Regions from separate parts of the Homo sapiens genome. Here all the other regions are linked to region 1. The links are contacts of gene promoters, found by promoter capture Hi-C in blood cells and fetal thymus (Javierre and others, 2016). All regions are on one chromosome and are shown on one strand. The core of a region is centred on a gene start or on the middle of the fragment in contact, and the rest is flanking DNA. Distances in the headings are between cores, read along the strand shown.

What was found. Contacts are between HindIII fragments. The CHiCAGO score rates a contact against its expected background, and 5 or more counts as called.
Region 2: a fragment that was not itself captured here is called in contact with the fragment with the promoter of MRPS6 in region 1 in 1 of 17 cell types (neutrophils); the score reaches 5.1 in neutrophils.
Region 3: a contact is called between a fragment that was not itself captured here and the fragment with the promoter of MRPS6 in region 1, in 1 of 17 cell types (neutrophils). The highest score is 7.8, in neutrophils.
Region 4: a contact is called between a fragment that was not itself captured here and the fragment with the promoter of MRPS6 in region 1, in 1 of 17 cell types (neutrophils). The highest score is 5.2, in neutrophils.
Region 5: a fragment that was not itself captured here is called in contact with the fragment with the promoter of MRPS6 in region 1 in 6 of 17 cell types (non-activated CD4 T cells, activated CD4 T cells, monocytes and 3 more); the score reaches 7.4 in non-activated CD4 T cells.
Region 6: a fragment that was not itself captured here is called in contact with the fragment with the promoter of MRPS6 in region 1 in 2 of 17 cell types (non-activated CD4 T cells and neutrophils); the score reaches 5.6 in non-activated CD4 T cells.

What each region holds. Positions count from the first base shown.
Region 1 is chr21:34,071,551-34,075,630 of GRCh38, reverse strand. It overlaps MRPS6 (mitochondrial ribosomal protein S6), which reads right to left and starts at 2,053. Exons shown (of 3, transcript NM_032476.4): 1 at 1,886-2,053. The coding sequence starts at 1,930. SLC5A3 (solute carrier family 5 member 3) reads right to left here and starts at 2,053. Exons shown (of 2, transcript NM_006933.7): 1 at 1,886-2,053. RefSeq lists silencers at 1,396-1,795, 2,086-2,605 and an enhancer at 1,192-2,142. The HindIII fragment of the contact is 10,607 bases long and covers 1,355-4,080 here.
Region 2 is chr21:34,306,817-34,310,896 of GRCh38, reverse strand. No RefSeq gene overlaps it. Among named protein-coding and RNA genes, the nearest start is that of KCNE2, 55 kb to the left of the region's middle. The HindIII fragment of the contact is 1,361 bases long and covers 1,385-2,745 here.
Region 3 is chr21:34,247,713-34,251,792 of GRCh38, reverse strand. No RefSeq gene overlaps it. Among named protein-coding and RNA genes, the nearest start is that of LINC00310, 69 kb to the right of the region's middle. The HindIII fragment of the contact is 3,804 bases long and covers 8-3,811 here.
Region 4 is chr21:34,224,344-34,228,423 of GRCh38, reverse strand. No RefSeq gene overlaps it. Among named protein-coding and RNA genes, the nearest start is that of LINC00310, 46 kb to the right of the region's middle. The HindIII fragment of the contact is 4,907 bases long and covers 1-4,080 here.
Region 5 is chr21:33,917,925-33,922,004 of GRCh38, reverse strand. It overlaps the pseudogene RN7SL740P. Among named protein-coding and RNA genes, the nearest start is that of ATP5PO, 4.2 kb to the right of the region's middle. The HindIII fragment of the contact is 5,747 bases long and covers 1-4,080 here.
Region 6 is chr21:34,203,321-34,207,400 of GRCh38, reverse strand. No RefSeq gene overlaps it. Among named protein-coding and RNA genes, the nearest start is that of LINC00310, 25 kb to the right of the region's middle. RefSeq lists an enhancer at 2,746-3,744. The HindIII fragment of the contact is 2,626 bases long and covers 1,065-3,690 here.

The DNA of each region.
Region 1 (4,080 bases), core at 804-3,303:
CCTTCTATCTACTGCCATGGGGCCTCTTTCTCCAAGAGGCAGTTCACCTTTATTATCTACTTTCTAGGGCTTTTTTTCTTTTTTTTGCCCCCCTTCCCTCATGCGAAGATTTCAAGGAAGGTTATTTATTATTTTAACCAAATTACGCTCTGTTGATCTGAACTAGAGTGAAAAATGGGTGCTCCACATCCAAAGGCTATGTTATTACAGGACATAAAAAAAAATGGTAAAAGAAATACACTTAATACTTGCAGCCATGTTAACCAAGATACTTGGCAACTATGGCAAAAACAAAGGGGAGGGCAAGTCTTCATTTCAAAGGTTTCAAAGGGTTACAGAATGAGCAAATATTATTGCCTACAGGTTGCCTCTTTCAGTGTCACCTGCTACCTCCCCAAGACAAGGAAAGTAAACAAAAGGAATTTCAGTAACGAATTTCCCAGGTTCCACATTCCCTAAAACACGTAAGTTGAAGGGAGGGCTTAAACAACTTCCACCTAATTAAAAATCTTCCCTTTTAATAATGCTTTGTTTTCACTGCTCCTATCCTTTCGGAGTTACATATGCTGGTAAGCAAGGAGGAGGGCCAAAAGGGATATTCAAGAGGCTGAACAGATACTATCTTAACTTCTTCCAAATCCATGAAGAACAAGCTGGGGGACACAATGGCATGCCTGGCCAGGCTGTCTGGACCTCATAGAGAGGCACTGGCGTCCCTTCCCAGTTAACAATATGCAAAGCACACTTCCTAACAATCTCCCGACGCTCCGTGATTGTTAGTTTATCAATTGAGCTTAAGTTCAACCAAACTTGGTAATACTCCTCGCAATTGACCTGGAGCCTAATTTCAAACGTAAAAATGCGTCCACTCCTCTAGCGCTGTAGGAAGCTGTGCTTACAAAGTTCGGACGTGGTACAATGATTTTTGTTTTATTACACCTGGTGGAGAAAAAAAAACATAACACCAAACTACGTTACCGAATTCCGAATTCACGGGAGAATGGGGATTTCGGCGACGACTTGAGGAGTACATGACCCAGGACAGAGGACGAAGTGAGCTGCCTCCGGGCCGCGGGCCCCTGTCCTTGGCCACGCCGTCACCTGAAAGGGGCCGCTGGTTCGCTTAGCATCCCTCCAAACCTGAAATCCCCTACCTCAAGATCAATCAAAAGCAGGGGGAAGAAAGTGTCTTCTGGAGGCGCAAGAAAGGCCACAACTTGGATGAATGAAACTGGGCTAAGGGCACCCGGAGCGGGATTTTCGCTGAAGTCAGAAAAAGAAAAGTCAAAAGATTTTTTTTTAACATGAGAGCGATTGCAAGAGACTGGAATACAGACAACGGCACAAACAAGCTTTGGAGGAACGCTTTATTGGGCGCGGACGTTCCGGGCGGCCGGCGGGCGCTAGAGCGGAGGCGGTCGGCGGCAGCCGGCGGGCGGCGGAGCGGGACGGACCAGGCGGCGGCGGCGGGGCCGGCGACGAGGCAGCTTCACGACTGGCGGGGACGGGCCGGAGTCGGGCTGGGCGCCCGCGCGTGTCCTCCCGCGGACCTTCCACTGGACTCCCGCGGGCCGGCGCCGGGATCGGGGTCGGGGCCCGCTCGGTCCGCCCCGCCCCCCGCCCGGCGGGCCGCTTGCGAGGCACACCCTCCCGGACCGCGCACACGCGCAGGCACACCCCCGCCTCCCGCGCGCACGCGGCCGGGCCCGGCCGGCCCACGCGCGCCCCCTTCCCGCGGACGCCCGCCGCCCGCCCGCCGCCCCGGCCTCCTCCGAGGAGTGCAGGAAGGCCCGGGGTCCCGCGGCCAGGGCGCGCGGGGGACGGCGGCCTAGCGGCAGCGGGGGCGCCCGCGCGGGAAGACCGGCTCTGAGGGAAGGTCACTTACCCGCTGCATGGCTTTCAGGATTAAAGCCAGCTCGTAGCGGGGCATGCCTGGAGGATCGGCGAGTGCGGCTCGGAAGCCAGCCGGTTCCCGGGACGCGAAGGGGCGGGACGGCGGGGACAGTGGGGACCTAGAAACTGCTGCGCCGGACGGCTCCCAGGCGGCGAAAGCACGGTCCGAGAGCGCGAGCCCGGGCTTAAAGGCGCTGGCAGCTGCGCAGACGCCGCGCCACGCCCCCTCGGCGCGCCCCGCCCCGCCCGCGCGCCTTGCCGCCGCCCCGCCCCCTCTCCGCCCGCGGGCGGCCGCCACGCCCCCTCCGCAGCCCCGCACCCGCCGCACCGCCCCCGCCCCGACCCCAGCCCAGCCCGCCGGCCGCGGCTAGGGGCGGTGCTGCAGACGCGGCCCAGAGCGGCTCGCGGCGGCCGCACGCCCCCTCGCGACCCTGCCTGCCCCTACCCCGCCTCCTGCCATGCCTGCTACCTAGCTCTCGAACCGGCTGGAACTTTCCATGCCTTCCTTCTCCTCCCGGGCGGCGGGCGAGTGAGTGCCCGCCAGTGCGCGTGCGCTGCGGTGCGGTCTCGTCCGTGCGCGTGCCCCTCGCCCGCGACTCCCCGGAGCTAGGGACCTTCGCGGCGCAAGGCGGGGTCGCGGCCGGCCCGGGGGCTGTGCGGCCAACGGCTGCTCGCAGGGGTTCTGGAACATTCCCGCCCGGGGTCGGTAGGGGGGTGCAGCTCTCGCCCCCAGCCACAACTCTCAGGTCTGACGCGGCTGACCAGGCCCCCTACCCGGCGAGGAGCGCGCTGGCACAGGCCGTGGGCCGCGGCGCGCGGGCTCGGGTCTGACTCAGTCCCTTGGCACTGCGTGACCTTGGGCCTGCTGCCTGTGCCGAAAGTGGGGACCCGAGTGAGTTACTGCACGTTAACCTCCGAGGACGGTGCCTGGTACACACAGGCGCGATACGGGCATTTGTGGTGTGCCCCTGACCTGCCCCCACGTGTTTCAGCGGAGGGCAGGCGAACACCTTAACTCTATCTCATTTCTTTAAATGTTTCCTCCGCTTTCACTTAAAGGCTAGGCTGAGTGCCTGGGAGACCCTTTAGCAACTGTCTAAGGTGGGCAGGGGCATACGTTCTGCCCTTGCCATCCCTTTACACCCACATGGTTCTCCGCCCTCCAGCCAGGGGCTCTGCAAGTGCAGTTTTCTCCAGCGCCCTTCCTTAGAGGTTGAGTACCCTGCAGCTGAGGCCTCTGCCCCTTGTTTGCCCCATTAAAAGCTCTGTACGTGGAGTGTTTGTCAACTTAAAGTGCTTTAACGTTAATAGGTAAAGTTTAGTGAACACTTACTCTGCATCAGGCCCCATGCCAAGGCTGGTGGATGTGTCTCCTAAAATTCTCACAACAGCCCTGAGGTGACAAAGATTCTTTGCTTGGCCAAACTTTAGTCAGGCTTCTGAATCTCATGCTAGGCCCATCTGTGCACTTCCTTGTAAAATCCAGTTCTAGCACAGAACCCCCATCCCCTCATAGCAGATCAGGTTCCTCATCTTCCTCTATCCCCCAGTCATGTCTTTTCACCCTGGCCTGAGTTCTACAAGAATCCTTTAGATCGGTTGAGCCAGAATCCCTCTTCCCCCGATGGTTACTCTTAGTGATTTTACATGGCCATAAATTTCTACTTGCCGACGCTGCATTCAGAATTGGAGCCCACTCTCTCTCCCCGGGTTTCCCTGATCCCTGTACCCATCGCGTTGGTCCTGAATAAAGTCTTTCTTACCATGCTTTAGTAAGCATCACTGAGTAATTTTTTTAAACAGAGGCAAGCACTGTTAACCCCATATTAGGGATTAGGAAATGTAGGCACAAAAAGTTTTGTAACTAGTCCAAGGTCATACAGTAATAGAAACAAAGTACTTTTAGCCGCCCCTCTACCCTTCTGACCTCCGGTTCTCCTACCACACAGATGAAGATGCTGATTGTTATTCAGTGGATTAACCGTGTAGTCCACGTAAGCCAAGATTAGAGTACCTTTGTCACCTTACCCAGAGGTTACCATTTCACATCCCATGCGTCTATTTGTGACATATGGGAGGTAGGAGATGGAGATGAACCCAAGTTTTTCTGAGATAGCTGGATTTTAACATTTTCTATTTTTAGACTTGTCTACAACCCATACCTGTGTGAAGCCACACAGGTAATCC
Region 2 (4,080 bases), core at 816-3,315, 240 kb before region 1:
CCAGCATGAATAAAATGAGCCATCATGAATGAAAATCCACAGAAATCATAAACTGCAGAATCAGACCTTCAAAGACCACAGATATTGGAAAAATCAACATGGAATATGAAATAAACTCATAAGAAAATGTTTCAGGAAATAAATGAGGTGATTGAATAAATGATGAAGATATAAGAGACTATCAAAATATGCAGACTTGATAAGGAGCCAACAAGGACTACTAGAAACAAAAGATAGACATGAATGTGGCACAGAGAGACATAGGTAGAAAATATATAAGCAGCTAAGAGGCACGGAGGATAAAGTGAGACAGTCTAACATGTTACCAGGTCTGAGTTTCATGAATTGGTAATAGAAACGATGTAGAAAAGGCAGTATTTAAGAAGATGATAACCGTGAATCTTACCGAATCGATGAAAGATATCAACCCTCAGATTCAGAAAGTCCAAAAAGCACCAAATTAGATAAGTACAAAGAAATCCTCACTTAGAGACATCACTCATGAGACTGTAGAACAGAGGTCAGCAGATCCTGCCACCTCGATGAAGTTTCATGGGAACTCAGTCATGCTGTTTGTTTAGGCGTTGTTTATGACTGCTTTCATACCACAATGGCAGAGTTAAGAAGTTGCAACAGAGGCCGTATGACCTGCAAAGCTAAAAGTATTTATTATATGGCCTTTTACTGAAAATGTTTGCCTATTCCGGTTGTAGAATATCAAAGAGGAGATACTGATTATTCAAATCATATGACAACTTAGCAGCAGAGTTAGAATTTCATCTTAGATCTCTTGACCAATGATTCTCAAAGTTGGTCCCAGAATAAAGACCAGCAGCATCAGCAGCACCTGGGAACTTGTTAAAGGTGCAACTTCTTAATCCCAGCACTTTGGGAGGCCGAGATGGCCGGATCACTTGAGCCCAGGAGCTGGAGACCAGCCTGGGCAACATAGCGAGACCCCATCGCTACAAAAAAATACAAAAATTAACCAGACATGGTGGCACACGCCTGTAGTTCCCACTACTAGGGAGGCTGAGGTTGGGAGAATTGCTTGAGCCCAGGAGGTCGAGGCTGCAGTGAGCTGTGATTGCGCCACTGCACTCCAGCCTGGGTGACAGAGCCAGATTCTGTCTCAAAATAAACAAATAACTTCTTGAGCCCCATATGCCTCTGGAAAGATTCTGATGTGTGTGAAAGTTTGGGAACTAATGCTCTTGACTAGTTTACTAGACCAGAGGTTCTCAACTTTCTAATGATTTTAAGAGTTCTCCATTACAATCACCTGCAGAGCTTTGATAACAATACCATTGCCTGCCCTTACCTCCAAAGACTCCCACCTAATAGGGCTGGAAGCAGGCCTGGGCATTGGTATTTTTAAAAAGCTTCCCAAGTGAGCCCTGTCTTCATTCAGGTAAGAACCACTGCATTACAGGTGACTGCCTTCCTTATTTTATCACTGGTGAAACAAACATGGAGAAAACCTGACAAATTCCCAAAACTTTGTGTTGGATATGTTATTTATGATTATGCAGACTAAATGAGAACAATTTGGGGGTGGGGAGGACTATTTTGCTGAGTTCATGGAACCGCCTAAATAAGTCAAAGTCAAATAAGTCAAAAAAAATCCCTCCTTTCCTTTCGTCTCCCTCATCTCCCTCCTGGAAGAGGAGCTACTGGGCAGTGAAATAACCAAATGTGAAACCATCTGAATGGATAGGGAAGCATACTTCATGAACAATCCATTTTATTGTAAACAATTGTCAGATAATGTAGGGTTTTGGTAATGCCCACCTACATGAGCAAAGGATAAAGGAACTGAGAAAGCTAAGATTTGGCCAGGCGCAGTGATTCACACCTATAATCCTAACACTTTGGGAGGCCAAGGCGGGAGGAACACTTGAGCCCAGGAGTTTGAGACCAGCCTGGGCAATGGAGCAAAACTCCGTCTCTACTAAAAATACAAAAGACATTAGCCAGAAGTGGTGGTGAGCACCTGTAATCCCAGCTACTTGGGAGACTGAGGCGGGAGGATGGCTTGAGCCCGGGAGGTTGAGGCTGTAGTGAGCTGTGATCATGCCACTGCACACCAGCCTGGGCAACAGAATAATACCCTGTCTCAAAAAAAAATCTGTGATTTGATGGGTTAGGAAACCTCAGCCCAAAATCTTCTGCCGTGTAGGTGCACGAGATGAGGGCAGTGGGGGGCAGAGTACTTATGCTAAAGTTCTCACGGATGTGGAGGGCTAGCAGGGGAAGGCAGACACCCTCCTGTCTGTTCACCCCTGATGACACTGACCTCTGCAGAAGGACACATCTCTTGCGGGCACAATATCTACGAAGGCCTGCCCTGCCCCCACCCACCCTCATTACAGGATCACTGCCCTCCTGACAGGCAACCTGAGAACCAGGTGACACCCAGTCATCATTGTCTTCTTGGCTTTTAGGTAAACGGGGCTATTGGATCAAGTATTTCCTTGAGGGAGAATAGTAACACTCAGGGAAAGAGAAAGAAGGGGCTGAAAACACTGCTGCTTCTTGAACAGGAAATATGGGACCTGAGTCACCTCAGGATCTTGTTAATCTCCTGACTGGTTCGGTAGGTCTGGGTGGGGCCTGAGACTCTGCATGTCTAGCAAGTTCCCAGATGAAGGTGATGCTGCTGGTCGTTGGACCACACTTTGAGTTGTGAGAAGCTAAAGTATGCTCCCCAGGCCAGGACCCTAGGGAAATTTCTCTCCACAAGCTTCCTGCAGCCTCTAGCTGCTGACCGCAAGAGCATGCCACAGTGGACACCAAGGTGTGCCCAAGGCTGGTTCTCTGTAGTTTCCACAAGTGTCCGGATCAATTGCCCTTCCCAAGCTTGGTAAAATTCCACTGGTGTAAACAGGAATGCTGAGAGTTCATCAAGTTTTTCACCTAAAATTTCAAAATTGCATAATGTTGAACCACCATAAAAATGAGTGGTTGCTATAATAGAAAAGCCCACAAAATGGCCACAGTAATTTGCATCTTCATAGTTTATAGGCAAGAAGTCTTCAACTTGAGTTGAGGGAGAAGTAAAATAAACAGCTGGGGTTCTTTTTACCACTCACCAGGATACTTATGCACTTATAAGACTGATGCCGGAAACCACATTTTCTTCTGCTCTGAGTTTTCAACCCATTCCCTGGGAGCTAAAGTTGGTGGCCATCATGGCACTGTGAGTGTTTGTTTAAAGCTCACCACACACTTGTGGGGACCAGATCTGGTTCCTTGTGGAAACCTTGGATGAGACAATTGTGAAAAATGTCATGAGCAAAGCTTAGGCAGAAGGGGGAATGAGGGGGCTGGAAAACACCAGAACTGGAAGACAGACAGACCCCTAGGGTCAGAGGAAGCCATGGATCTCTGCTTGGGGGACTCCATACCAGAAGGCCGGGGAGCCTGAGCACAGACAGCTGATCTGAATCCAAATTTTAGCCTAAGGCAGAGTTCAGGATGGCAGTAAGGGGAACAGGGGTCATGCAGGATGATCACTCACTAGGTTGGGGTAAGCAAAATGTCTGGCGTGGGGAGCAGGGTTAGGAGAGAGAGCTGGTCAGGCAGCAGCTGGGATTGGATCACCGATTCCAGGAGGCAGGGGGGTAGCTGCCAGGTGACCTGTGACCTGTCCTTGAGAAACTAGGTTCTCACCTTGGCAGCTCCACCAGAAGTCCATTCTCTCTGGGGCTTAAAGAAGTCCAGACCACCATGGCCATGGACCTGGAGTTCCCTTAGCCCCTCTCTCCAGCACTGCTACGTCCTCTTGGTGTCTGACGAAGCCCCCATGGGGAGGAAGACAGGTGCACAGGTTTACACTGGGGGTCTATCTCATTGGGTTAGACCAAGCAACAGGACATTGTGGAGATGTGGCCACTGGGGACTGGGAATTCACTTCCAGAAGTTCATTCCCTGAGAGGTGGGATACAAACTGACAAGGTTCTTGCTGTCACCCTGGCTGGTCACTGGAATAGTTCAGGGGAGTGTTTAAAGAAATCATGATGCCCTGGCCCTATGCCCAGAGATTCTGACTTAATTAGTCTGGGGAGGGTCTCTGGATGA
Region 3 (4,080 bases), core at 660-3,159, 180 kb before region 1:
CAAAGCTTCCCCCGTGATTCTAATGTGTAGCTAGGGCTACAAACCACTGGGCCAGGTGAGACAGGAAGAGTTATAGACCCCATTGTTTTTGTTGCAAAGCTCCTAACCCACCCTGGGAGCAAGTGGAAGAGAGCCCTGTCCCCCCTTTAAACCCACTGCCCAAGCAGGCATTTCTCAGTATTCAGCCGCTAGAGATGTGTCCTAGGGACCTGCCTCTCCAGAACTGGGTGGAGTTGACTTTCTCAGCTTCTCTTTTGCCAGTATCTGTGTGGCCTCCCAGACCCATGTGCACACACATGCACACACACACACATTGTTCTTTTACCATAAGTGATTCCTCCCTCTTTCTGTATTTGAGATCCTCCTCCCCAAATGGGGATATTCCAGCCAGTGCTAGGAATCCCTACTAAGAACAGCATCATTTTCCTGAAAGTTCTGCCCCCAATGGAAACCACATCTTTACCTCATCAAACTGTTTCTTTTCTAATTAGTGTGTACATGAAGTGCTAGATCCAATGAGAAAGACACGAGTCAGCTCATTAGAGTTCTCAGGTTTATATTGAAAGGAAAATTAGATCTGCATTTATCTAAAGCAAATACATACTCTCGGTCAGATAATGAAAAATGCACCAAATGGCTTTTTAAATGGAGCACAAATATGCTTTGATTGTTCTTTTTGTTTATGTTTTGTTTTGTTTTGTTTTTGAGACGGAGTCTCGCTCTGTCACCCAGGCTGGAGTGCAGTGGCACAATCTCAGCTCACTGCAACCTCCACCTCCCAAGTTCAAGCGATTCTCCTGCCTCAGACTCCTGAGTAGCTGGGACTACAGGCGCCCGCCAAAAAGCCCAGCTAATTTTTTATATTTTCAGTAGAGACAGGGTTTCACCGTGTTAGCCAGGATGGTCTCAATCTCTTTACTTCGTGATCCGCCTGCCTCGGCCTCCCAAAGTGCTGAGATCACAGGTGGGAGCCACCACGCCTGGCCGCTTTGATTGTTTTTAATGACACTCTCTTTTACGCGAGTGACATCAAAGGAAGCACCAGTTAACCAGAAGTGAAGCCAAACTGGCTTGCCTTTGAAAGGGAACAAGTAACTCACTATCCTGTAATCACCACTTAGTTAGGTCCATTGACATTTTGGCTCAAAGTGACTCCTCAGGCTTCATGCCAATTAGTCTGAAAACTGCAGGAAAACCTGAAAGAGCAATGCCCAGGCACTAAGAATGGGGAAAAGATGACTGGATGCTTCTCAAGGTTGTCATTCTGACTTAGCAAAAAGGAAAAGGGAAGACAAAGTAAGAAACACCCCCAGTTAATGCTGATCTTGGGTTGGTAAAAGAACAGGAAGAAGAGGAAAGGCCATATCAGAGTTCCACTGGGTGATGATGTGAGAACATAACATTCCCAGAGAAAAGCATCAAATAAAGAACGTTATACTCTTCTCTCTGGATCACTGCATACCAAAAGGCAATAAAAGGATAAATAGTCAATTTATAAAAGAAAATTCACAAATACTAAACCATGATGTGATGGTCATTAGTTCTACCTTCCTGGTTTTTCTGTATCTTCTCTTGGTCCCATGATAGAATCAAAGGTCCCTTGCACTTGAAGTAGGATATGGCCATGTAACTTGCTTTGGCCAATGAAATGGCAGGAGTAACATGTGTAACTTCCAGCCAGACTGTTTAATAACCTATACGTAATTTGCTACTCTCCCTTGTCTACTGCCTCAGTGACCAGCAGCGTTTCAGACGGTGGCTGCCCCACCGTCTGGCCCCTAGAATGAGGACAGGAACAGCTCAACTCACAGTGGGAATCTAGCATGAGAAAGAAATGAACTTTTGTCATTTTAAGTCACTACAATTTTTTTTTCTTTTTTTTTAGACAGAGTCTTGCTCTGTTGCCCAGGTTGGAGTGCATTGGCACGATCTCCGCTCACTGCAACCTCCACCTCCCCGGTTCAAGCAATTCTCCTGCCTCAGCCTCCCGAGGAGCTGGGACTACAGGCATGTACCACCACACCTGGCTAATTTTTGTATTTTTAGTAGAAATGAGGTTTCACTATGTTGGCCAGGCTGATCTCAAACTCCTGACCTCAGGTGATCCTCCTGCCTCAGCCTCCCAAAGTGCTGGGATCACAGGCGTGAGCCACCATGCCTGGCCATCACTACAACTTTTGAGATGTCATTACCACATCTTAATCCAATGTAACTAGATTTGTTTATATGACATGAAAGAAAATGTTCAACTTCATAAAATTCAAGTACCTATGAAACTAGCAAAAAGGAATTAAATGATCAAGAAACCAATGCTAGGAATGCTGGGTATAAAAAAAAAACCTTGTTGATAGTTATTTGATTTGATAATTTCTGGAGTGTGATCTGGTATTATCTAAAAAGAGTAAAAAAAAAAATTCACATCCTTTAGCCCAAATCCCCTCCTATGAATTTATTTTGTGGAAATAATTCAAAAGAATTGTTGAAAGTTAATTATACAGAATGGTTTACAGAAACTCTTCATAATGGTCAAAACTGAAAACATCAAAATGCCCATCAATTAGGCAAGATTAAGTAAACTGTTGCAATTAAATTATTTAATACTGGAGTGACTAAAACCTATGCAACAGTGCATATGACATAAATTCAGTGAAAAAAGTAGCCCACCTCTGCACACTAATTATAACCATAGAAAGGTTTAGCTCCTGCAGAGGAAGTACATCTTTTCACTTGAATACAAGCCCATGTGGGGAGAAATTTTCTGGATCTTGTGCTCCACCATTCTGAGTATCTGGAATAATACTTGGGACATGGAAAACATTCTGTTATATATTTGTTGAGTTGCTGAATTAATTAACCAAGTAATTACTCTTCATAAAAATTAATCTTCATAAAAACCCTGAAAATCAAACACAATGTTATTATCCTCAATTTATAACTAGAAACAAAATGTGGTTTTCAGAGGGGGTTTTGTTTTTGTGTGTGTGCATATTTTTCAATGACATCATTTCAGAATTTTTAAAGAACCCCCTCTGAGGGGAGCCTAACTCCTCAGCTCTCCTTCTCCAGATGGTCTCTCCTGAGAAGTGTTTCTTCTGTGGTACCCAAGAGGCAGGGTGAGGCTCAGAGGTACACAGAGGCTTAGAAGCCAGGCAGGGGCAGCAGGGTGCTATGCTGGGGCTCTCTTTCTTTTGTCTGAGTTTAGGTCCTGGCTCCAGCAGTTCTTTCAACTCCTCTGAGCTCAAACATAAGTATGCCTTGGAAGAGACCTTGAACGTAAAAGAACTTGTAAACAATACAGAGAGTTACACCAGCATTGGAGACCCAGTTTCCTCATCTACCTGCATCCTAGGGCAATTATAAGAATTCAAAGGAGAATGTACATGGAAGTGCTGTGTATAATTTAGAGTTTTCGGTCAAGATTTATTTTTTGGTGAGGGAATCAGGGTACCTGGATGGCAAGAGCATGAGGTAAAACTTATTGGGTGGCTGTGGCTCCCACAAGCCTGAATGATCTGTCTCCTCATCCAAGTTCAGAATGGAGTAGGGAGACAGGGGCTTCAATGGCCAGGCCAGTTTTCTACACCCTGGTGGTTGGTCCAAACTCACTTTCCTTTCTGCCACCCTCAGACATCAAGCAAAACATACACATTCAGTGCACACCCAGGAACCACCAGAGGGGCTGGTGAAAACCTGCAGATTGGCCAAGGCTTAGTCCATCCGAGCACCTCAGGTGACACCTAAAGGAGGAGATGGGTCCCAGCTGCTCCTTGCATTCGTTATCTATTGCAGTGTAACCAATCATCCCAAAGCTTAGCAGCTGAACACAACAAACGTTTACCATGCCACAATTGCTGCCAGTTAGGAATCCAGACACAGCTTTGCTGAGTGCCTCTGGCTCAAGGTCACTCATGAGGTTGCAGTCAAGCTGTCAGCCAGGGCTGCAGTTTCATCTGAAGGCTTGACTGGGGTCGGACAGATTCATCTTCAAGCTCACTCATTCAGTTTTTGGCAGATCTCACTCACTTACTGTGTGGGTCTCTCCACAGGGCTACCTTACAGCATGCTGGCTGGATTCCCCAA
Region 4 (4,080 bases), core at 1,040-3,539, 150 kb before region 1:
GTATGAACCTTCCACCATGTGGCTGTCTGCTGGGGACACTCAGTACCAACTCAGGCTTAACGTTGGAGTGGAACCACAGATGCCCTTGAAACAGATTAAGCTGGACCACAAAAGGCTGGAGGCCAGCAAGCAGGAGGCCAGACTCCCTTGAGGCCAAGCTGGATAAAATGCACCCTTATTCCCCAGCTGCTCCTAGCTTCGATTTGGCATGGTGTGCTGGAGCAGACACCCTTCGCCATCCTCTCCTGTTGCTCAGCTATGTTTGAGTTTGGGAGAGCGACAATGGTGCTTGCTGCTCTCCTGACCAAACTACAAGCTACAAGCTCAGGAGATGAAATTTCCCTCAGGCAGCTTCCCGTCTGCTCTTAGGGAGTCATCCTTCCTGGAGGAGCCTCGGGGTTCTCAGAGGCACCTTGTCCGGCCTTGTCCCTTCATAGCAGGACCTGGATCAGGCAGCTCGCAGAGGTGGAGCAACATGACTGTGCACCTGGTTGCTTCTCCAGGCCCAGTCCCATCTGGGTTGATTTTGAAAGAAATATTTACACTAAAGGGCTTAAGCAGAGGGAAGATTTCACTGCCTCTTATCTCTCATAGTTTAGAAAAACAACCAACATTTCATGAACGCGTGACCCTGTGGTGCCTGTGTTTACGGCTCACTTCTCTGGGGAGTCTTCTCTTCTCAGAGCCCTGTCCTGGCTTCCTTTGCACCGCTCACTTCCTCTTGGACTCCCAGGGAAAAATAGGATTCCCATGGACATGCCACATCCCTGATAAGGTTCCCTGAACATTCCAAGTTATCCACACTTGAGACTGACATTGCTCTATGCCCCATCTATGTAACGGCAGCTCCCAGTTCTTGTCCTCCAGCCAAAACATCATGAGTCACTCAGCTCCAAGGAGACCTGGAGACCCTCCCAAACACACAACTCCTATATGCAGCACAACCAGCCCAAAGCCATGTGACCAGGCTGCTCACACTCATGCCCAGCCCTGCAAAGGCCCTGCTCTCCTATCCGTCGCCCCAGCCCACCTTTGTACACATGCACTCCCCAGAAGACCTCAAGGCAAAGGATCTCCAGCTCCACACCCCACCCACCACTGGGTCTTCCTTTCAGGCTGAAGCAGACTTCTCTTATGCCAAAGCACTTATCCTTCTCCAAGGAACCAAGTGGAAACCTAGAGTGGGAATTCCATACCCATCCATCCTCTCCCATCATACCCTCTCCCATCTTCCTCCTGACTCAATCTGCCATCCCCCTCTCCCTCCTGCCTCCGATGCTGCTCTCCAAATTCTTGCTCCATGATCGCAAACTCTCTACCTTTGCATCTCAGCCATCTCATCGAATGTTCCCTCCGACTCTTGGCTTAACTTAGTGATTCCCAGCCCTGGCTTCACATCAGAATCCCCTGAGGAAATGTTTAAAAAGATACTTCTGCCCAGAAAGGGCTGGCTACCTAATTTCTGAAGCCAAGCACAAGACAAATATGCAGGCTTTCTTATTCAACAAACATTAAGGATTTTCAAGATGGCAGCAGCAGAGCATTAAAACAAGCACAGGGCCCATCTGAGTTCCACTGTCCAGGTCCAAGGCCATGGAGCAGCCCTGTGCCCAGGTACTTGCCCTAAACCTTCAGATTTAATTAGCCTGGGTAAGGCCCTGGAATCTGCATTTTAAAAGCTCACCAGGAGATGCTGAGGAGACCCAGCTGCCCCAGGCTGACCAAGAGATACTGCGTCTGTTGCAGCCCTCTCAAATGGAAACTTTTGGAACCAGAAGTTGGGCTCCTGTCTTCCTGGCTCCATAGAGTCACTTCCAGACTTTTTCTCTGTGTGGTCTGGAAATTACAGTCCTGCAAATTAGCTGCTCAACTAGATCTAAGGTCAATCTTGGATTTTCACTGCCCTTGTCTAGGACATTTCTGGACTTCTCTTAGCACCTTTCCTCATCCAACCAATATTTAGCAAACAGTTCACAACTTTCTCCACCCCCATTCATGTTGCTGCCTCAGCATCCCTGTGTAAGGCCCAGCCAAGGTCCTGGCCCCTCGGCCCCTTGTTCGCCCCATGATCAGTGACCACCTCTCTTCTTCCACCTCAGCACCCATTCCCATGCTCACTGCTGGGATCTGGCCAAGACTCAGAGCTCCTTCACTCCTAAATCTCAAACCCAAGTTCCCCACTCTCTGACCACAGCATCCTGTCCTAACCTCTCTCTCATCCCCACTGAGGCCTTCAGTCCAGTGACCACCCCCCCAGATATTCCTTATCTATTACTTTTACTCGCTTCACCTTCCATTTTATCCTGCTAACATTCAATAGTCCAATCTTGTAATTACTCTCCTCCAAATACAGATGCTCTTAGACTTATGGTGGGGTTACATCCTGATAAGCTCATCCTAAGTTGATGATATCGTAAGTCAGAAATGCATTTAATACACCTAACCAGCTAAACATGCTAGGTTAGCTGAGCCTACCTTCAATGCACTCAAAACACATTAGCCTACAGTTGAACAACATCATCTCACACAAAGCCTATTTTATAATAAAGTGATGGGTATCTTGTATGTTATTGAATACTGTACTGAAAGTGAAAAACAGAATAGCTGTATGGGGGCTGGAAGTACAGTTTCTACTGAATGTATATCACTTTTGCACCATTGCAAAGTCAAAAAAATCATAAGTGGAACAAGTCAGAGACTGTCTGTACTAGACATTCCCTTCCTCTCTGTCCTTACGTCTCACCTATCTAGCAAAATTCAAGCCTTGGGTGGATGTCATCATCCACTTTCTCTACACCTGCTATTGGCCAGCAGATCACTGCTGGAGGGACATCCCAGAACTGCACAGCCACCCATCTTGGCTATGCCCTCAGGACTGCCTGGTAATTGGAACCACAAAGGGCTCCTTCGGTCAATACAGGCTCTTCTTTGCACAATTTATACTTCAAACCTTCTCCAATCTCACCACGTCTGAAACCACTCCTTCCTTCCTTCACATTCAGCAAATGACCTTGTCATCTACTGTACTGAGAAAAGAGAACAAACTGTCTCACCAAATCTACAAACAGATGTCCCTGAGTTTGCACCCACCTCTCCCTCCTCCTGCTGAGAGGGCCAGCTCCTTCACAGATGCCCTCTGTGCCCTGTGCCTGTTGCTTTCTCGAGGGCCTGGTGCTACCAGCTATCCTCTCTAGCTTGTTCCTTCCATCTCCTCCATCAGCATTTAAATCCCCTAGCTGCAGGTGGGCACAGTGGCTCATACCTGTAATCCCAGCACTTTCGAAGATTGAAGTGGGCAGATCACCTGAGGTCAGGAGTTCGAGACCAGCCTGGCCAATATGGCAAAATCCCATCTCTACTGAAAATAGAAAAATTAGCCTGTCATGGCGGTGCACACCTGTAATCCCAGCTACTCGGGAGGCTGAGGCAGGAGAATCACTTGAACCCGGGAGGCAGAGGTTTCAGTGAGCCGAGATCATGCCATTGCACTCCAGCCTGGGCAACAGAGCAAGACTGTCTTAAATAAATAAATAAATAAATAAATAAAAATTACCATGGCTGCAATCTTTGAAAAAGGAAAGGGAAAAAGAAAAGAAAAAGAAAAGGGAGAGGGGAGAGGAGGGAAGGAGAGACCAGAAGACCCTCCTCTTCCTCCAGCTCCTATCCTCTCTTACTGTCTTTTTTTTTTTTTTTTTGGCAGGGTCTTGCGCTATTGCCCAGGTGGGAGTACAGTGGTGCGATCACAGCTTACTGCAGCTTCAACCTCCTGGGCTCAGATGATCCTCATGCCTCAAGTTCCCAAGTATCTGAGATTACAGGTGCATGCCACCATGCCTGGCTGATTTTTGTTTTTTGTATCTTTGATATAGACGGGGTCTCACCATGTTGCCCAGGCTAGTCTTGAATTCCTAGGCTCAAGTGATCCAACCACCTAGGCCTCCCAATGTGCTGGCATTACAGGCATGAGACATTGCACCTGGCCTCTCTTACTCTTGCCTTTGTGGCCACACTCCTTGTGTCTCCCTCATCTGCCACTGACCCCAGACCCCATTCCCACAGACTTTCACTACACCACTTTAA
Region 5 (4,080 bases), core at 427-2,926, 150 kb after region 1:
ACAATCTAGGCTCACTGCAACCTCCGCCCCGCGGGTTCAAATGATTCTCCTGTCTCAGCCTCCTGAGTAACTGGGATTACAGGCATTCACCACCATACCTGGCTAATTTTTGTATTTTTAGTAGAGATGGGGTTTCACCCTGCTGACGAGGCTGGTCTCAAACTCCTGACCTCAGGTGATCCGCCCGCCTCGGCCTCCCAAAGTGCTGGGATTACAGGTGTGAGGCTTTAAGTCACTTTTTAAGCCTTTGAGTCACTTTTTTAAGAGCATGTACAGTGAGGGTCTGATGCCACCACACTGCTCATTTCTACCACTGCATATGGTTTCTTTGTAGAGAAAATAAAACAGCGAGCAATATTTATTTTGAATTGAAGGTCAGTGTAAACAAAAACATCGAGATTAGATGTCCGAGTTTTGCCCTGTGGCCTTGGGCAAGTACCTTTGACTCCATTGGCCTCAACTACTAAAATATTAAAATAACTCATTTTTAAATGATTTGAGTTTGTGCAGAGAGAAAGCGCGATAACTGCAGAGTGCTAAGTCTCTTCACTTCTTTTTCTTTTTTTGTTTTTTTTTTTTTTTTTTTGAGACAGGGTCTCACTCTGTCACCCAGGCTGGAGCACAGTGGTGCGATCTTGGCTTACTGCAACCTCTGCCCCTCAGGGTTCAAGTGATTCTCCCACCTCAGCCTCCCAAGTAGCTGGGACCATACGCCCAGCTAATTTTTTTTTTTTTTTTTTTTGTAGATACATTGTTTCACCATGTTGCCGAGGCTGGTCTTGAACTCCTGAGTTCAAGCCCATCTGCCCACCTCAGCCTCCCAAAGTACTTAGATTGCAGGTGTGAGCCACAGCGCCCGGCCTCTTCCCTTATAGGATACAACTTTTTGTTCCTTTCCAAATGCTCTGTTCTTGCATAGCAGAGGGTGTGGCAGTGTCACAGCTGGGAAGTTTCTGCCAGTTCCCTCCACATGGGAGTTTGCACATGGCGCCCTGGCCTGACATCACAGTGATTTGCCTACAGGCACCCAGAAATCCAAGAGCAGGCAGGAGGGAGGTGTGGATGCAGTGTTATCAGGCTTCAGGGCTTCTGTGTTTCTCCCTTTGCCCACACCACTAAAATACAGGCTAGCTTCAAAATCCCATTCCAGAAACACATCCTGAATGATTCACTTATTCTTTCAACCATAGAGATGGAAAGAGATGGGACTTGGTGCAGGTGCCTGGGTTTGAGATGCAAATTGCCATTTCCTAGACAAGCTGCGTAAGCAGGATCCAAAACGTTTTCACCATCTATAAAATGGGGGAATACCAAGCCCATCTACATCTCGAGTCATCCTAAAACTCAAAATAAAAATGAAACCATATATGTGCAACCAGTTAACAAATCCTAAAATTGAAATGACCATAAACCACTATTTTGGAGATGTGCAAGTGGCTGGAAATTATTCTAGATATGAAAGAAAGTGTGTCTTAATATGTTTAGAAGATTCAGAATTGTTTAAAATGTCAAAAAGTTGGGGGCAGGGCACCAAGCGCGGCGGCTCACACCTGTAATCTCAGCACTTTGAGAGGCCGAGGTGGGTGGATCTGGAAGCCAGGAGTTTGAGATCATCCTTGGGTAAATACAAAATAAACAGAGGGTATTTCTCTGCTGCTGTGCAACCTTACAGTTTACTTATAATTAATTTTTTTTCCTTTTTTCTCCTTATAATTAATTTTCCATGCAGCTTTTCAATTTTCTCTCACCAAGTTGTGTCAGTTTTGGAAATCTATTTCAAAATTTTTCTAGATATAAAAAAAGATGCTTAGAAGATTCAGAATTGTTTAAAATGGCAAAAAAAAAAAAAGTGGGGGTTGGTGGTGCCAAGCAAGGTGGCTCACACCTATAATCCCAGCACTTTGGGAGGCCAAGGCAGGAGGATCGCTTGAGCTCAGGAGTTCGAGACCAGCTTGGGCAACATGGCAAAAACCTGTGTCTACAAAATACAAAATTAGCTGGGTGTGGCTGTGTGCACATGTAGTCCCAGCTACTCAGGAGGCTGAGGTGGGAGGATTGCTTGAGCCTGGGAGGCTGAGGCTGTACTCAGCCATGACTGTGCCACTGCACTTTAGCCTGGGCAACAGAGTGAGGCCCTATCTCAAAAAATAAGCAAATAAATAAAATAAAATGGCAAAAAAAAAAACAAAAAGCAGAAACCATCTGAATTATATTCAGAGTCTAGAGTTTCCCAAGTATAGTTGACCCTAGAACTTTTTATTTGTATTACATCTGTTAACACCCACACTTCAGAAAACACAGGTTTTGCAGTTTAATTTCTCATAGAATATAAAGTTTATAAAGGTAGGCACTGTGTCTTGTATCCTGTTGTAGCCTCAGTGAATAGAACAGCTGGCTACATGTAATAGCTGCTCAATAAATTGTGTTAAATAATGTGTTGAATACTTTTCATTAGGCTTATTTGAAAATAGTCTCTGAAAGTTTGCAGAGTAGAGTGAAACAAGGGTTTTCATGTGCTGCTACGGAAAGTATAAATTGGTTAAAATTTTGAAAAGCAGCTTGGCCTCATGCATCAGAGGCTCTTAGAGTACTCATATTCTCTCACCAAGTTGTGTAAATTCTGGAAATCTATTCGGAAATTTTCCTAAATATGAAAAAAAAAAATGACTGGGCATGGTGGTGTGCACCTGTAGTCCCAACTACTTGGGAGGCTGAGGTAGAAGGATTGCTTTAGTCCAGGAGCTCTCAGCTGTAGTGCACCATGCCGGTCAGGTGTCCACACTAAATTAAGCATCAATATGGTGACCTCCCAGGAGCAGGGGACCACAAGGTTGCCTAAGGAGAGGTGAACCAGCCAAGTCAGAAACAGAGTAGGTCCAAACTACCATTTTTAGGCCGGGCATGGTAGCTCATGCCTGTAATCCCAGCACTTTGGGAGGCCAAGGTGGGCAGATCACCTGAGGTCAGGAGTTCAAGACCAGCCTGGCCAATATGGCGAAACCCCATCTCTACTAAAAATACAAAAACTAGCTGGGTGTGGTGGCATGCACCTGTAATCCCAGCTACTCTAGAGGCTGAGATAGGAGAATAGCTTGAAACCAGGAGGCAGAGGTTGCAGTGAGTCAAGATTGGGCCACTGCACTCCAGCCTCAAAGACAGAGCGAGACTCCATCCCAAAAAATAAATAAATAAATAAATATAAAAATAAAATAAAACTCCCATGCTGATCATTAGTGGGAATCATGCCTGTGAATAGCCACTGTACTCCAGGGCAAAAGAGCCAACACCATTTCTTTTTTTTTTAAAAAAAAAAAAAGAAGGCTGGGCACAGTGGCTCATGCCTGTAATCTCAGCACTTTGGGAGGCCAAGGCGGGTGGATCACCTGAGGTCAGGAGTTCAAGACCAACCTGGCCAATATGGTGAAACCCTGTCTCTACTAAAAATACAAAAAAATTATCTGGGAATGGTGTCACATGCTTGTAATCCCAGCTACTTGGGAGGCTGAGGCAGGAGAGTCGCTTGAACAACAAGAGCGAAACTCCATCTCAAAAAAAAAAAAAAAGAAAGAAGAGAAATATATGTCTAAATATGCTTAGAAGATTCAGTATTGTTTAAAATAGCAAAAAGAAAAAAGGAAATCATCTGAATTATGTTCAAAAATCATAGAATAATTAAGTTGCAGAATATTCACTTGATGGACTACCCTGCAGCCATTAAAATGATACTTAGAAACTTTTATAATTTGGAAATATGCTTATATTATAAGCATGAATGCATAACTCATATGTAATTTTGCATCCTTTTCTTTCTTGCATTAAAGAAAATGGCAAAATACCAAACTGTATAAAGATTGTTAATCTGCATGTATAATAAAAGCAAACAAAATAAAGAGCTAACATAACCGGGTGTGGTGGCGTGCACTTGTAGTCCCAGCTACTTGGGAAGCTGAGGTGGGAAGACTGCTTGAGCCCAGGAGTTGGAGACAAGTCTGAGCAACATAGTGAGACCCTCATCTCTAAAATAAAAAAAAATGTTGTATTAGCCAGGCTTGGTAGCATGTGTCTGTAGGCCCAGCTACT
Region 6 (4,080 bases), core at 1,128-3,627, 130 kb before region 1:
GAAATCAATAGCTTTTGTTTATATGTTAGAAACAAATTCAGTTAGACAATATAATGGGAGAAAAGACTTCATTTACGAAAGCACTAACAAAGATAAAATATTTAAAAATAAGTTTAAAAGAAACATGGAAACTGACATTAAGAAATCTTTTAAACACTCAGAACAACAACAAAAAGACTTGAAAAATAAAAATCCCCATCATGTTCTTAGGAAGACTTAGCTTCGTAGGGATGTCAATTTCCCTTAACTTATAAATGTTAACATATAACTGTTATCCCAGTAAAAGAAGTTTTTATCTATACAAAGTGATTCTAAATTTTACATGGAAAAATAAGAATAGACCAGCTATTTCTGATAAAATAAATGAGGAAGTTATACTATATATTAAAATATATTTAAAATCTTCAACAATTAAAACATAGTAGTGGCATATTACTTATTAGACGGACATATAGCACAGAATTGAAACCCTGGAAAACATCCAAATCATGCAATGATTTTGTTTAGGATTAAGATGGCACTCAACTACATGGGGAAAAGACAGATTATTCAATAAATGGTGTTGATAACCACCACTTTTGGATTTTGAATATGGGCTTCACATTTATAGTAGAATAAATTCTGACTGGGTCAAAGATTTAAATGTAAAAAGAAAAAACATAATACTAAAACAAAAATGGGAGCATGAGGAAGGCCTTGCTAACTACAACTCAAAATCTAGAAGCCACGAAATAAATGGTGAATAATTTCAACTGCATGAAAACCAAAAGCTTTTGCATGGCAAAAAGCAATTGAAAAAGAAAAAAAAAACACCCTAAGCAAAATCAGTAACAAATGACAAAATGAGGAAGATGTGTAACTCACATCACAAAGGATTAATTTCCCTAGTATATAATAAGCTTCTGCAAATTGATGAGTCAAAAGGCAAACAAACCAATAGAAAAGTGGGCATGGATATGGAGAGCTCACAATGAGAAACATACAAATTAAAACCATACTGGTTTTTTCAAATTTATCGAATGGCAAAAATCCAAAAGTTTAAAAGCCAAGTCTGTTGGTAAGCTTTGAAACATAGGCACTCTCTCTGATACATTGCTGCTGAGAGCATAAATTGGCATACCCCCTGTAAAGGCTAATTTGGCAACATCTGTCCACATTAGAGATGCATTTACCCTTTGACTCAGCAGTTTCACTTCTAGGAATTTACCTTATGCATAAACATAATTGTGTGCTGAACGAAGAATTGCAGTTGTCCACAGCAGCATTGTTTGAAAGCAAAATACTGCAGACAACTTAAATGTCCATTTCTAGGGGATTGTTTGGGCATATTTTAGACAGCAAGAAGCACTAGTAAAGAAAAATGAGGAAATGGTTTATGTACTATGATGAAAAGATCTCTAAGATGCACTGTCAACTGAAAACAGTGAGGTAAGGAACACTGTACTGTGTATTAGCAATCAAGTAGAAAAAGAGTTGGGAGTGGGGGAAGAACATATTCCATGTGCTTGTATGTGCAAAAATCCCACAAAACTCTAGAAGGATAAACAACAAATTAATAACAGTGGCTATGCCTTTAGGGTGGGGGATAAGAATTGGGCAGATGGGGGCCGGGCACAGTGGCTCATGCCTGAAATCCCAGCACTTTGGGAGGCTGAGGTGGGTGGATTACCTGAGGTCAGGAGTTCAAGACCAGCCTGGCCAGTATGGTGAAACCCCGTCTCTACCAAAAAGACAAAAATTAGGCGGGCATGGTGGCAGGTGCCTGTAATCCCAGCTACTTGGGAGGCTGAGGCAAGAGAATTGCTGGAACCTGGGAGGCAGAAGTTGCAGTGAGCCAGGATTATGCCACTGCACTCCAACCTGAGTGACAGACTGAGCCTCCGTCTCAAAAAAAAAAAAAGAAAGAAAGAAAAGAATTGAGCAGATGGGAAAGGACACTTTTCACTGTGTAATGTCTTATACTTGTTGATTTTTTTAACCATAAAATGCATTACTTATCCAAAAAGTTAAATAAATAAAACGTTCAGCTATGTGAAGGAAGCATAGGACAATATCCCTCTCTCTCCCTTTCCTTACCCCAGAGCAGCCTGGCTCCTGCAGAGCTGAGGAACTGAGCACGTGAGGTTGTCTTGGTTTCACAGAGCCTGGAGTGGGCATAGCTGAGTCCCTGAAGGTTACACGACTTGCTCAGGCCTGTCCAGTGAAGTCAAGGGCAGTTCCAGAGCTGGAAGCACAGGGCTGGGACGTGGCCTCTGGTCTCCTCCAGTGAGGAGGCAGGTGCCCAGGGGCAGGGTGCTTCTAGATGGCCCCCAAAGGAGCCCACCATTGCTACATTCTAGAGCAGCTGAAAGGGAGCCCAGGGCCGGCCAGCCAGCTCCGCAAAGGATTCTGGGTGATGAGGCATTGTGGGATTTTCTGAAATGACTTCATGTCATTTCTCTACCCCAGATCACCCTCCTCGCCTGGTGAGAGTTGAGAGGTCTCAAGCAGGATTCCAAAACCGAGAAGGGTCAGAGACTGGGAAAGGAAACTGGCCTCTCCAGCAGGAAGAAGCTGCCCCCAGGCCCTGGCCCCAGGATCTTGACTAGCCTATTAAAGACATGAGACTGAGGCCTGGACACTGGATTCCATTTTTTAATTTCCCTGGGGGAAACATTCCACACAGCAACCAGCAGGGTCATTTACTTCTTCAGGAGGCCTTTTATCACCCTGTGGCTGGAGGACCATCTGCAGCAGCCCCTGCTGTGCGCTGGCAACACTGAGCAGCATGTGCGCGGCTGCCAGGGGCTGCTGGCCACCTGGGCCTGGGTAGGAAAAGGACTTAATTAGCCACAAAGAGCTCCCTGAGTATGCAACTCAGAATCACTCAGTCTGTTCGCAAACAAGTAAAGCACCTACCATGATCCCAGCATAGTCCCGGTTGCCCCTGGGGTTCCCAAAACCCCAGCCTCCCTCATGCTTCTAGGCCCTCCACACAATGCAGCGAGTGACACGAATAGTCTTGCATTGGTCACTAACTGCCTTTTGCAGCTAAATTCTATTCACAGCAAGTCTGTGGCCTCCCCAAAGCTAAGGATCCCTGTTATATCTCCGGATATTCACAGAGCTCCCAGCGCAGCCGAGAACACACAGCCAGCCCTGCAATAAATGCTTGTTGGTTGCCTGCCAGGATCCAAGCTAAAAATGGAGTTGCCTTACGGCCAGGTAAGACCCAAGGCAGAGCTTCAGTCGTGCCCCCCCCCAGCTGTCAGGAACACTCACTGCAAAAGTCGGCCCTTCAGGTCACCTTCAAGGCCCTACAAACTCTATCCGGACCTGCCCCCCCATCAGCCTCTGACCCTGGCACTCATACCCCTCCAAGGACAGTGCCGGCCTTCCTGTTCCTCCAACAGGAAAGGCCACCGTCTCCCCTCAGACCCACTGCACTTGCTGGCTGCCCACTTCTAGAATGTTCTTCCCCTAGAAATCCATGGAGCTCACCCCCCCATCTCCCTGTCAGGTCTCTGCTCAAAGAGTATCTTCTCCATGAGGCCTCCTCATCACCCTATTCTAAAGCACTCTCACCCCGCATTTCCCCATCCCCCTTTCCTGCTTTCTTTTTCTCTATATCACTTACCACTGCCTAAACAGGAAAAAAAAAAAAAAGATTTTTCCTATTTATTTTATCACCGGTCTCCTCCAATCTAAGCTTTCTAAGAGCAGAGCTTTTTGTGTTTTGTTCAGCTGTGTATCCCTCCAGGCACAGAACAGGGCCTGGAGGGTTCAACAAGGCCCTCCAGGGCCTTGAGTAGGTGCTCAACAAATATTTACTGAATATATTAATATATGTATTGATTGATTAATTTAGCTGGGGCTCTTTCTTGAAGTTAATCGAATTAAAACAACATAGATTTTACATTGCTTGTGCACATGGATGAAAAACAGTTCCCTATACTTCTTTACTGTTTCATAGACGTAGTTTTATTTTATTTGGGTCTCACTAAAGACCTTACTCGATTAGATGGGGCAGAAATGGTTATGACCTTGATTTTACAGAGGCGAAAACTAAGACTCTGAAGGGTGAGATTTCCCCAGGACCTT